Regions from separate parts of the Homo sapiens genome. Here region 1 is linked to region 2. The links are contacts of gene promoters, found by promoter capture Hi-C in human tissues and cell types (Jung and others, 2019). All regions are on one chromosome and are shown on one strand. The core of a region is centred on a gene start or on the middle of the fragment in contact, and the rest is flanking DNA. Distances in the headings are between cores, read along the strand shown.

Region 1 (4,756 bases), core at 355-2,854, 1.1 Mb after region 2:
TCCTTTCCATTTGAGGCAGCCCCAGTGGCTACCACCATCCCATAGTCACCACCAATTCCTTAGGACTCTGCTGCCAAACGACACAGTTGTACAACATCTCCATGGCCTCATTCTATACACACATAAAATGGACACAGGCTAGAGAACTCAAAATGGATTAACAAATACAACTAGCAAAGCTAAGAGAGATCTAACATTGAAGATAATTTATCTCGAGTGCCTCTGGAGTGTATAAGAAATACGCCAAAAGCATCCCTAAATTTAGAGCTCTGCAACATATTTCAACTGGAGAGAAAGGGGGTGGGGGAGAGAATATGTATATAAAAACAGTTTTTTTTTCTGACTCTCACTGTTTCTAGGATTTTCAAACTTATTTTTAAACCAATGGGACCAGTTCTTCTTGTATAGAAGCCTAATGTGTACAATAGTAACAAACCAAAACCCAGAGCTGCTCTGACAGAAGCAGAGGTAAGGAACCAGGAGTTCCAGATAGGTCTCTGTGGAAGTCAGTCTTCCCTAAAATACAATTAATATTCACTTGAAGTAGGCAATCGAAGAGAAAAAAGGGTGTAACAAACAATATCAGGTTTTCTGGTCCTTACTTTTGTTTTTCTTTTGAGACAGTCTTGCATTGTCACCCAGGCTGTAGTACAGTGGCACAATCACAGCTCACTGCGGCCTTGATTCCTGGGCCCAAGCAATCCTCCCACCTCAGCCTCCCAAGAAGCTGGGACTACAGGGCACATGCCACCATGCCCGACTTATTTATTTATTTATTTATTTATTTATTTATTTAGTAGAGACAGGGTCTCCCTACATTGCCCAGGTTGGTCTCAAACTCCTGGGCTTCAGCAATCCTCCCACCTCAGCCTCCCAAAGTGCTGGGCTTACAGGTATGAGCCACTGCTCCCAACCTGGTTTTTACTTTTTTGAAGGACTTTCAAATCAATGTCTGGATCCTATTTTCTTCATTAAAAACACATAAGCAATCATAATCCAATATATACTTTTGGAACCTGAAAGAGACATACCTAGAAAAGCTTAGTAAAAGTGATCTCTGCTGTGGCCTCCACACCCTGAATCATAACTGAAAGCATTTCTACTTAAGGCGGACAATTTGTACTTGGGATACACTGGTATAGTGTGGTCAGGGGCTGAGACTGAAGCCAGGCTCCCACTCTCAGTTATAGCTGTTACCCTCGCACAGGGTACTTAACCTCTTTGTGCCTCAGTTTTCTCATCTATAAAATAGAGATAATAACTGTATCTACCTCGAAGACTTTGTTAGGAGGATTAAATGAATATAGCACGCAGAACAATAAGAAAGGTCCCTAAGAAAGTTTTAGCTACTACAATTATATTCTATATCATAGAAAAACCATTCCTTACTGGAAAAATGTGTTCCTAGAAAACGTAAACATCAGTACATAAAATTAAAAATTAACATCTCTCCCAACCTCCCGTTCCTACTCCCAAAGGAGCCACTTTTGACAGTTTCACATGGAGACTTGCAGAGTTTTTGTCAATGAAATATAGGTCTGTTTTTGCTTTTGTTTTTATAAAGAAATGGAACTGTACCATACACACATACTGACATATTCTGTAAGTCGTTTTTCAGATGTCTTCCCTATCAATATATACTGACATTCATTCTTTTGAACAACTGCATTGCATCTCATCTTTTATAAAGATATACCATACTTTAACCATTATCTAAATGGCAATGGTTAACTACTACTGAGATGGTTGTTTCTAATACTTTGTTATTACAATTAGGGCTTCAGTGAACATTCTGGAGAATAATTTGACAATAGGTATTAACAGCCTTAAAAGTGTAGATTTCCTTTAATTAATTAAGGGTAATTCTCTTTCAAAAATATCATCTATGGAAATACATAGTGGTACAGAGAAAGTTATGTACACAGGCATTAAGAGGCTACATATTAATCTTTTGAGTAACACATAAAAAAGCAAATGTGTCTTCCTCAATAGATGAACAACACGTCTGTTTCCCATCACCCGATTTGTTCCTGATTTACAGCCTCAGAATTTCTTAGTGTTCTAACTCTACCAATCCTCACAAAGTCCCTTTTTACTTGGAAAGGAAACAAGGCTAGATAAGAGGTTTGTGCTGTCCAAGCAACACAAAGTAGAAAACAACCACAGAGTGAATTCTCCTCCTAATGATCAAGCTTGAAAACTAAAAGCTGGAAGCTTTCTCCATTATCTAAAAGACTTTACAAACTAAGAGCTGTTCCTTATGCCAATTTGTACATAACATACAATGACATGAGATATTTTCTGGTTTGGGTTTTTGGGAATGACTAAGAGATTCAGAGAAACTTCTGTGAATGCTTCTCCGTTCTCTAACATAATAGACTGTGAAGGGTGGTCCAATAATTGTGATTATACTCATTGCCGTATGTTGTATAATCTTTACAGTTTTATAATCACTAGTTCAATCCTCTTGCAAGAAGAAGAAGAGAGGAGCTTTGGGACAAGGGGAGGAGAGAATGAAGAGTATTTCTCCTCATCTTTCCCCCTAACTTTTCAAGGCCCACATGTAACTCTTTTGAAATTTCATTATATTTACATTCTTTCCTCAAAGCTTTTCATTCATTATTGAAAGGAATCCAGACCAGGCCAACCTGATGCTGAAATCCAGACCAGGCCAACAAGAGTTACTGGCATTCTTCTTAAATAAAAAAATAAATAAATAAATTTTTGAAAAGTTGGTCTTTTTGCAGCAGTATGTATTTACATACAAGTTACGTAGGTATTCAAAACATTATTATGAGGCAGTGACAATCCATGAAGGCCTTAAGAGCACTCTTCATAACAAGAAAGCAAGGACATTGTGCTTGAAGATGTTTCTATTTAAAAAAAAGAGTTTGTGACCAGCTTGGGCAACAAAGCAAAACTCCATCTCTACAAAAAATAAGTTAGCCGGTGACCAGCCTGGGTGACAAAGTGAAACTCGAACTCTACAAGAAATAAAATAATTAGCTGGATGTGGGGGTGCACACCTGCAGTCCTAGCTACTTGGGAGGCTGAGGCAGGAGGATCACTTGAGCCCAGGAGGTCTAAGCTGCCATGAGCTATGACTGTACCACTGCACTCCAGTTTGGGTGACAAAGCAAGACCCTGTCTCAACAAAACAAAAAACAAAAAAGAACAAGAAAATTTGAAAAGAAAAAAAAGGCTATACTTCTCAACAACAAGAATTATACTACGATTTACACTACTACTTTGATTTTCCTTATTCGGCCCTATTGAATCTTATTCAAACATTCTTAAGGAAGTTGATAGTTTTCTTAACAATAAAACAAACTGGACAACATCCTTTTGACTTGGAAGGAGTTTGGGTATTTGCCCTGTAATTTTTAATGAAAGTGAACAGTCTCTCCACAGCGGTAAAGTTAAAAAAAAATCACAAAAATACTTCACTATTCAAATACTTCAGTAATTTGCTATTGAAACCCTGCTTTGACCCCTGAACCAAAGATAAAATCCCAAACGCAAGATAATCTGTACATTTCTTCTCCTGTTTTTCAGTTGTGCAACTTTACCCAACAAAGTCCTTCGACTTATCAGCAATTTGGATAGTACTAGATGCCTGAATAAGTTGTTTTGCCCATTGCCCAAAAATCACTTCAAGGAATTCAATGAGGCTTCTTGTTTTGTTCAGTACAGTGTTGTGTAATGAGCTAAAAAAACGAACAGAGTGAGAGGCAAGAAGGGAGTAATTAAATATGGCAATATCTAAAAGCTTTTCAGAAAGCTCACCCTATCCCACACAAAATACTTTCTATCTAGCAGATGTCCCAAAGCAACATTTTGATGTCCCATGCAGGCTGAGTGTACTTCCACCTCTGTAAGAGCTGATGTCAGCCAAGCAGGAACCGACTGGCCAAAGACATCAAACTCCTCATAGGTCTGTCAGACACCAAGATAAACAATGACATATGGCTCAGCCCCCGCCCTCGCCCCTTTTTTTTTTTGAGACAGAGTCTTGCTCTGTCACCCAGGCTGGAGTGCAGTGGCGTGATCTCGGCTCACTGCAACCTCTGCCTCCCGGATTCAAGCGATTCTCCTGCCTCAGCCGCCTGAATAGCTGGGATTACAGGCGCCCAACACCAAGCCAGGCTAATTTTTGTATTTTCAGTAGAGAGGGGGTTGTTCTCTCACCATGTTGGCCAGGCTGGTCTCGAACTCCTGACCTCAAGTGATCCACTCGCTTTGGCCTCCCAAAGTGCTAGGATGACAGGTGTGAGCCATCGTGCCCTGCCTGGCTCAGCCCTTTTTGTTGTTGTTGTTAAAGGGTCAAAGGAAGATGAAAATCCCTTTGCTTTCAGTGAAATCACGTACACCTACCAAGTATCTTCACTCATAAGAAAACTGTACAATTAAGAAACAATACTAAAAAGAAACAGAAAGGTTGGCCACCTTTGTCAATTAGGTAGAATAACACACTGACAAAATAAGACACACACACCAGCAGGAGGTTCTGCACCACTGAAAAGAAGCCGGTGCGATGGCTCAAGCCTGTAATCCCAGCACTTTGGGAGGCCCAGGCGGGCGGATGACGTGAGGTCAGGAGTTTGAGACCAGCCTGGCCAACATGGTGAGAGACCAACAACCCCCTCTCTACTGAAAATACAAAAATTAGCCTAGCTTGGTGTCGGGCGCCTGTAATCCCAGCTACATGGCGAAACTTCGTCTCTACTAAAAATACAAAAATTAGCTGGGCGGGTGG
Region 2 (4,355 bases), core at 722-3,221:
AAGGCCATCAAGCTACAGATGGTCTTACAAATGGAACCCCAAATGAGCTTAACTCACAACTTCTACCGAGGACTGCTAGACTGACCCACTGGCCCTTTGACTGGCCTAGAGAGTTCCCCTCTGGAGGACACTACAACGGCAGGGCCCCTTCTTTGCCCCTATCCAGCAGGAAGTAGCTAGAGTGGTCATCACCCAGTTCCCAGTAGCAGGTGGGGTGTCCTGTTATGAGGGAGGATTGAGAGGTGAGGCCAGCTGGACTTCCTAGGTCGAGTGGGGACTTGGGGAACTTTCCTGTCTTACAAGAGAATTGTAAAATGCACCAATCAGCGCTCTGTAAAACGCACAATCAGCAGCATTCTAAAAGTAGCCAATCACGGGGAGGATTGAAAAAAGGGCACTCTGATAGGACAGAAATGGAACATGGGAGAGGACAATAAGGGAATAAAAGCTGGCCACCCCAGCCAGTAGCGGCAACCTGCTGGGGTCCCCTTCCATGCTGTGGAAGCTTTGTGCTTTCGCTGTTCACGATAAACCTTGCTATCACTCACTCTTTGGGTCTGCGCCATCTTTACGAGTGTAACACTCACTGCGAAGGTCCACAGCTCCATTCTTGAAGTCAGCAAGACCACGAACCCACCGACAGGAACCAACTCTGGACACAACTATAGCCTCCAACTCCTGGGCTCAGGCAATCCTTCTGCCTTAGCCTCCCAAGTAGCTGGGGCTACATGCATGCACTAATGTCTAGCTAATTTTATTTTTATTTTTGGAGAGACAGGGTCTTGCTCTTTCACCCAGGCTGGTCTTGAACTCTCAGCCTCAAGTGATCCTCCCACCTTAGCTTCCCAAAGCACAGAGATTACATGCCTTTCCCTCAAGCTACTTGCCATCTCATCTTCCTTACTATATTAAAAGCAAAGGCTCCGGACATGGACTACTGGGGTTGGATTTCTGGCTCTGCTCTTTAACAGCTATGTGATTTGGACAGCTGGTTTCTTTCTGTGCCTCAGTTTCCTCATATGTAAAAGGAGGATATGAACAATGGCTTCCATGCCTGGCCTTCTTTTTCACTTTATAAATAAGTATACTTCTCTCCTTTCTGAATGTGGGAATAATACATTGTTTATAAATTTAGAAGTTGGAAACTACAAAAAAAAAAAACACAAAAAAAAGAGAGAGAGAAAGAAAATCATTACATTATTCCTAATCTCATTTGATGTACTTTGGCCTATTTCTTTCAGGCACTTTTCTGCATGTACCTTTTTTCCATAGCTGAAACCATATTGTATAAATAGCTTCAGATTCTGGTGGGGTGGTTTTTTCATGTAGTAGAACAGGTGTTTTCCCAAGTCCCTGAGCTCTCACTCTGCACACCCCATCTACCATTTCCCAGTGATGTGGCTTTGGGCGGTTGCTGCAGTTTGCTATTACACAAGTAAGCATGCAACCCACACCTGGGGAGAGAACTTTCTTCTCTCCTGAATCTCGGCTCGCATCTTTAAGCGCCACCCCATTAGACAGGAGGCAGCAGAAGCACAAAGCTCCATGAGTAACTCCTCTCCCTTTTGGAAAAGTTCACAGAAAGCAATTTTGGAGACCTTGGCAACGTTTAATTATGAACATTTAGAAAGACAACGGATCTCCTCATATGCACTGGGACTTCAGGGCCAGGTCTTCAGTTTCATGATTCGCATGATTCGCAGGGCTCCGGCACAGGAGCAATCTGAAAGCTGGGCTGCAAGCCCAGCGCGGTCTGCCTCCTGAGGCCCCGACCCACTGCGGCGGCGGCGCTGGGCCCCCTTACCTGGGCAGCGCCAGGGCCTCCTCCGTGCGGCCGAGGACGCCGAACACCGCTGGCAGCGCCAGCACCCCGTCAAGGTCGAAGACGGCCGCGCGCAGCGTCATGGCGGCGGGTCTGCAGCCTAGCACCCGGACACGCAGCTAACCTGGGAGATGCGCGAAGGCCAGGGCGCATGACCCGCCCAGCTTGGCCCGGCTCTGCCCCGCCCCTGCCCTGGCCCCGCCTCCTCCCCACACCCCCTTAACGGGACTCCGCCCTCTGCCCGGGTTAAGGCTGGACTCTGGCCGGGAAAGAGGCAGGGGGAGGGGCACAGGAAAGGGAGTCAGAGGGAGAGGAAGAGGAGGCCGGGAAGGCGGGGACCCCAGGCTAGAATCTCGCCTCTGGATGTAACGCTTTCTACTGTCTCAAAGGAAAGTCCAAAGTCTCTTATGCCCCCTCCCCACGCCCCTGCAGTAGCTGCTTGAAGAGGCAAACCCAGGCCCGGGCCTTCCTGGACGGACTGACAGCTCCCTGCGAACTTGCTGGACTTGGAATGCCTGGGAAAGAGGCCACAGACTCTGTGTGTGTGTGTGTGTGTGTGTGTGTGTGTGTGTGTGTGTGTGTGTGTGTGTGTCAGCACATCCAGTGACTTCTACATTCAGAACATAAGACCGTGTTGGGGGGCGGGGGAGGGGCATATCCAGTGACTTTTCTAGATTCAGAACGAAGGATCACAGATCCCTCACTATCCTGACCACTCCTCTAGGCACGCTCTTCTTTGCCAAGGCAAATGTGTTTCTAGAATAAAATATGATGTTCCAGCTATCGTGTGCCAGCCCAGAATACTTCGATTTCAATCTCTTGTGGAATGAAGCTTAGAAGAACTAAATGTAGGCTATTATTTTCCTTTTGTACATGCTACTTGTAATAATTCTGTCTTAAAATGTGCGAGGTTTGTTTTTAATCACCGATTTCCACACTATTGGCTCGTTTATGTTCCTAGAAAAACTAAAACTTTGGCTGGGAGTTCTTGAGCTGTTGTAGTGCAGCTCCATGAATTAAAAACCGTGTCTTTGGTGGAGACCAAACAGAGTGAGTGAGGTCTCCAACAGTGGAGAATTTACTCTTGAATGTGTCTCTGTGGATTTATCCAAGATACCCTCCACCACGGAGCTTCAAGAACCTTGTGAGGGGTTGTCAGATACCTCACTGTAACTGGGAGGTCTACAACAGTCTCTGGATCTAGCAATCAACAACAGGATTGACCAGAGCCGTGGGTTTCCTCTGGGCTGTTTGCCCTTAGCAAGCTATGCTGTTGCTTCCTTCTCTAGCTTGGTAACCTCTTCCAGGCTCCTGCCTGGAGCAGTTATTAGTGTTTTCTGAGATTCTTGCCAAAGAAGCAGAGAGTGGCCAACACTGCCAAATGTTACAGGAAGAACTGAAAAAAAAGCTGTCCAATTTTGGACTTGGATGACACCGGATGTTTCAGAACACTTTTTGTGGGCCCTTTATGGTAGAAACTGGATTACTCTGGATTTGAAGACTGAAAGATAGGCAGAGAAGGGAGTACAGCAAGCTAGTTTCTCATGAAGTTAGTTGATCTCAAAGGTATAATTGAATTTTAAAAAATAGAAAGAAAATTGCAGCCTGACCTATATAGTATGAAACCTGTTAAATCTCCAGATTGGGCATGGTGGCACACACCTGTAATCCCAGCACTTTGGGGCTGAGGTGGGAGAATTGCTTGAGGCCAGGAGTTTGAGACAAGCCTGGGCAACAAAGCAAGACATTCTCTCTATAAAAAATAAAAATAAAATATTAGCTAGGCATGGTGGTGCATGCCAGTAGTCTCTGCTATTCAGGAGGCTGAGGTGGGACGATCACTTTAGCCCAGGAAGTGGAGGCTGCAGTGAGCCATGATTGTGCCACTGCACTCCATCCAGCCTGGGTGACACAGCAAGACTCTACCTCCAAAAAAAAAAAAGAAAGAAATTAAATCTCCAACTTAGAGTTTCCTTTGGGCTCCAGACTTGCCAACTTCTTACTCAACATCTTACTCAACGTCAATATCCAACTTCTTACTGAACATCTTCTCTTGAGTGTCTAACAGGCATCTCAAATTTATCATGGCTAAAACAGAACTCTCTCTGCATTTCTACTTCCCACGCCTGTTCCTCCTAGTGTGTTCCCTATCTTACAAACTGGCATCCCCATTGACTCAGTGGCTCAGTCCCGAGACCACGGAGTTGCTTCCAGATCCTTGGCTCCCAGCCAAACCATATGTTCGTGTTTCTAGCGGTGGCCTGCTGATTGAGGCAGAGATAGCAGCTTCTAGTTCTATGGTGGTGTTTTCTGGGAGTCCTTCCTAAAGGCTCAGTCTGGAGCTCACTCCTCCATTCCGTTCAAAGATTGTGTAGGCTTGCAGTCTCTCATCTTAAATCCCTTTCTTCTGTTTCTATTTAAAATAACTACAGTGATTTCTGTTGCCTGCATCTGAATTCTGCATCTAGCACAGTATTGCTTATGAATACGTAAGTATATTTATACAAGCAGTAAAGTGTAGAGGAACGACATA

What was found. The method cuts DNA at HindIII sites, captures the fragments that hold promoters and counts their contacts. A contact is called where the count stands out against the background at its distance.
Region 1: a fragment that was not itself captured here is called in contact with the fragment with the promoter of EPHX2 in region 2 in 1 of the 25 tissues and cell types used here (dorsolateral prefrontal cortex).

What each region holds. Positions count from the first base shown.
Region 1 is chr8:26,384,848-26,389,603 of GRCh38, reverse strand. All of the region lies in intron 1 of BNIP3L (BCL2 interacting protein 3 like), which reads right to left. Among named protein-coding and RNA genes, the nearest start is that of BNIP3L, 4.2 kb to the right of the region's middle. RefSeq lists a silencer at 3,757-4,051. The HindIII fragment of the contact is 3,170 bases long and covers 20-3,189 here.
Region 2 is chr8:27,488,759-27,493,113 of GRCh38, reverse strand. It overlaps EPHX2 (epoxide hydrolase 2), which reads right to left and starts at 1,971. Exons shown (of 19, transcript NM_001979.6): 1 at 1,805-1,971. The coding sequence starts at 1,905. RefSeq lists a silencer at 1,888-2,167 and a cis regulatory region at 3,914-4,228. The HindIII fragment of the contact is 8,102 bases long and covers 1,581-4,355 here.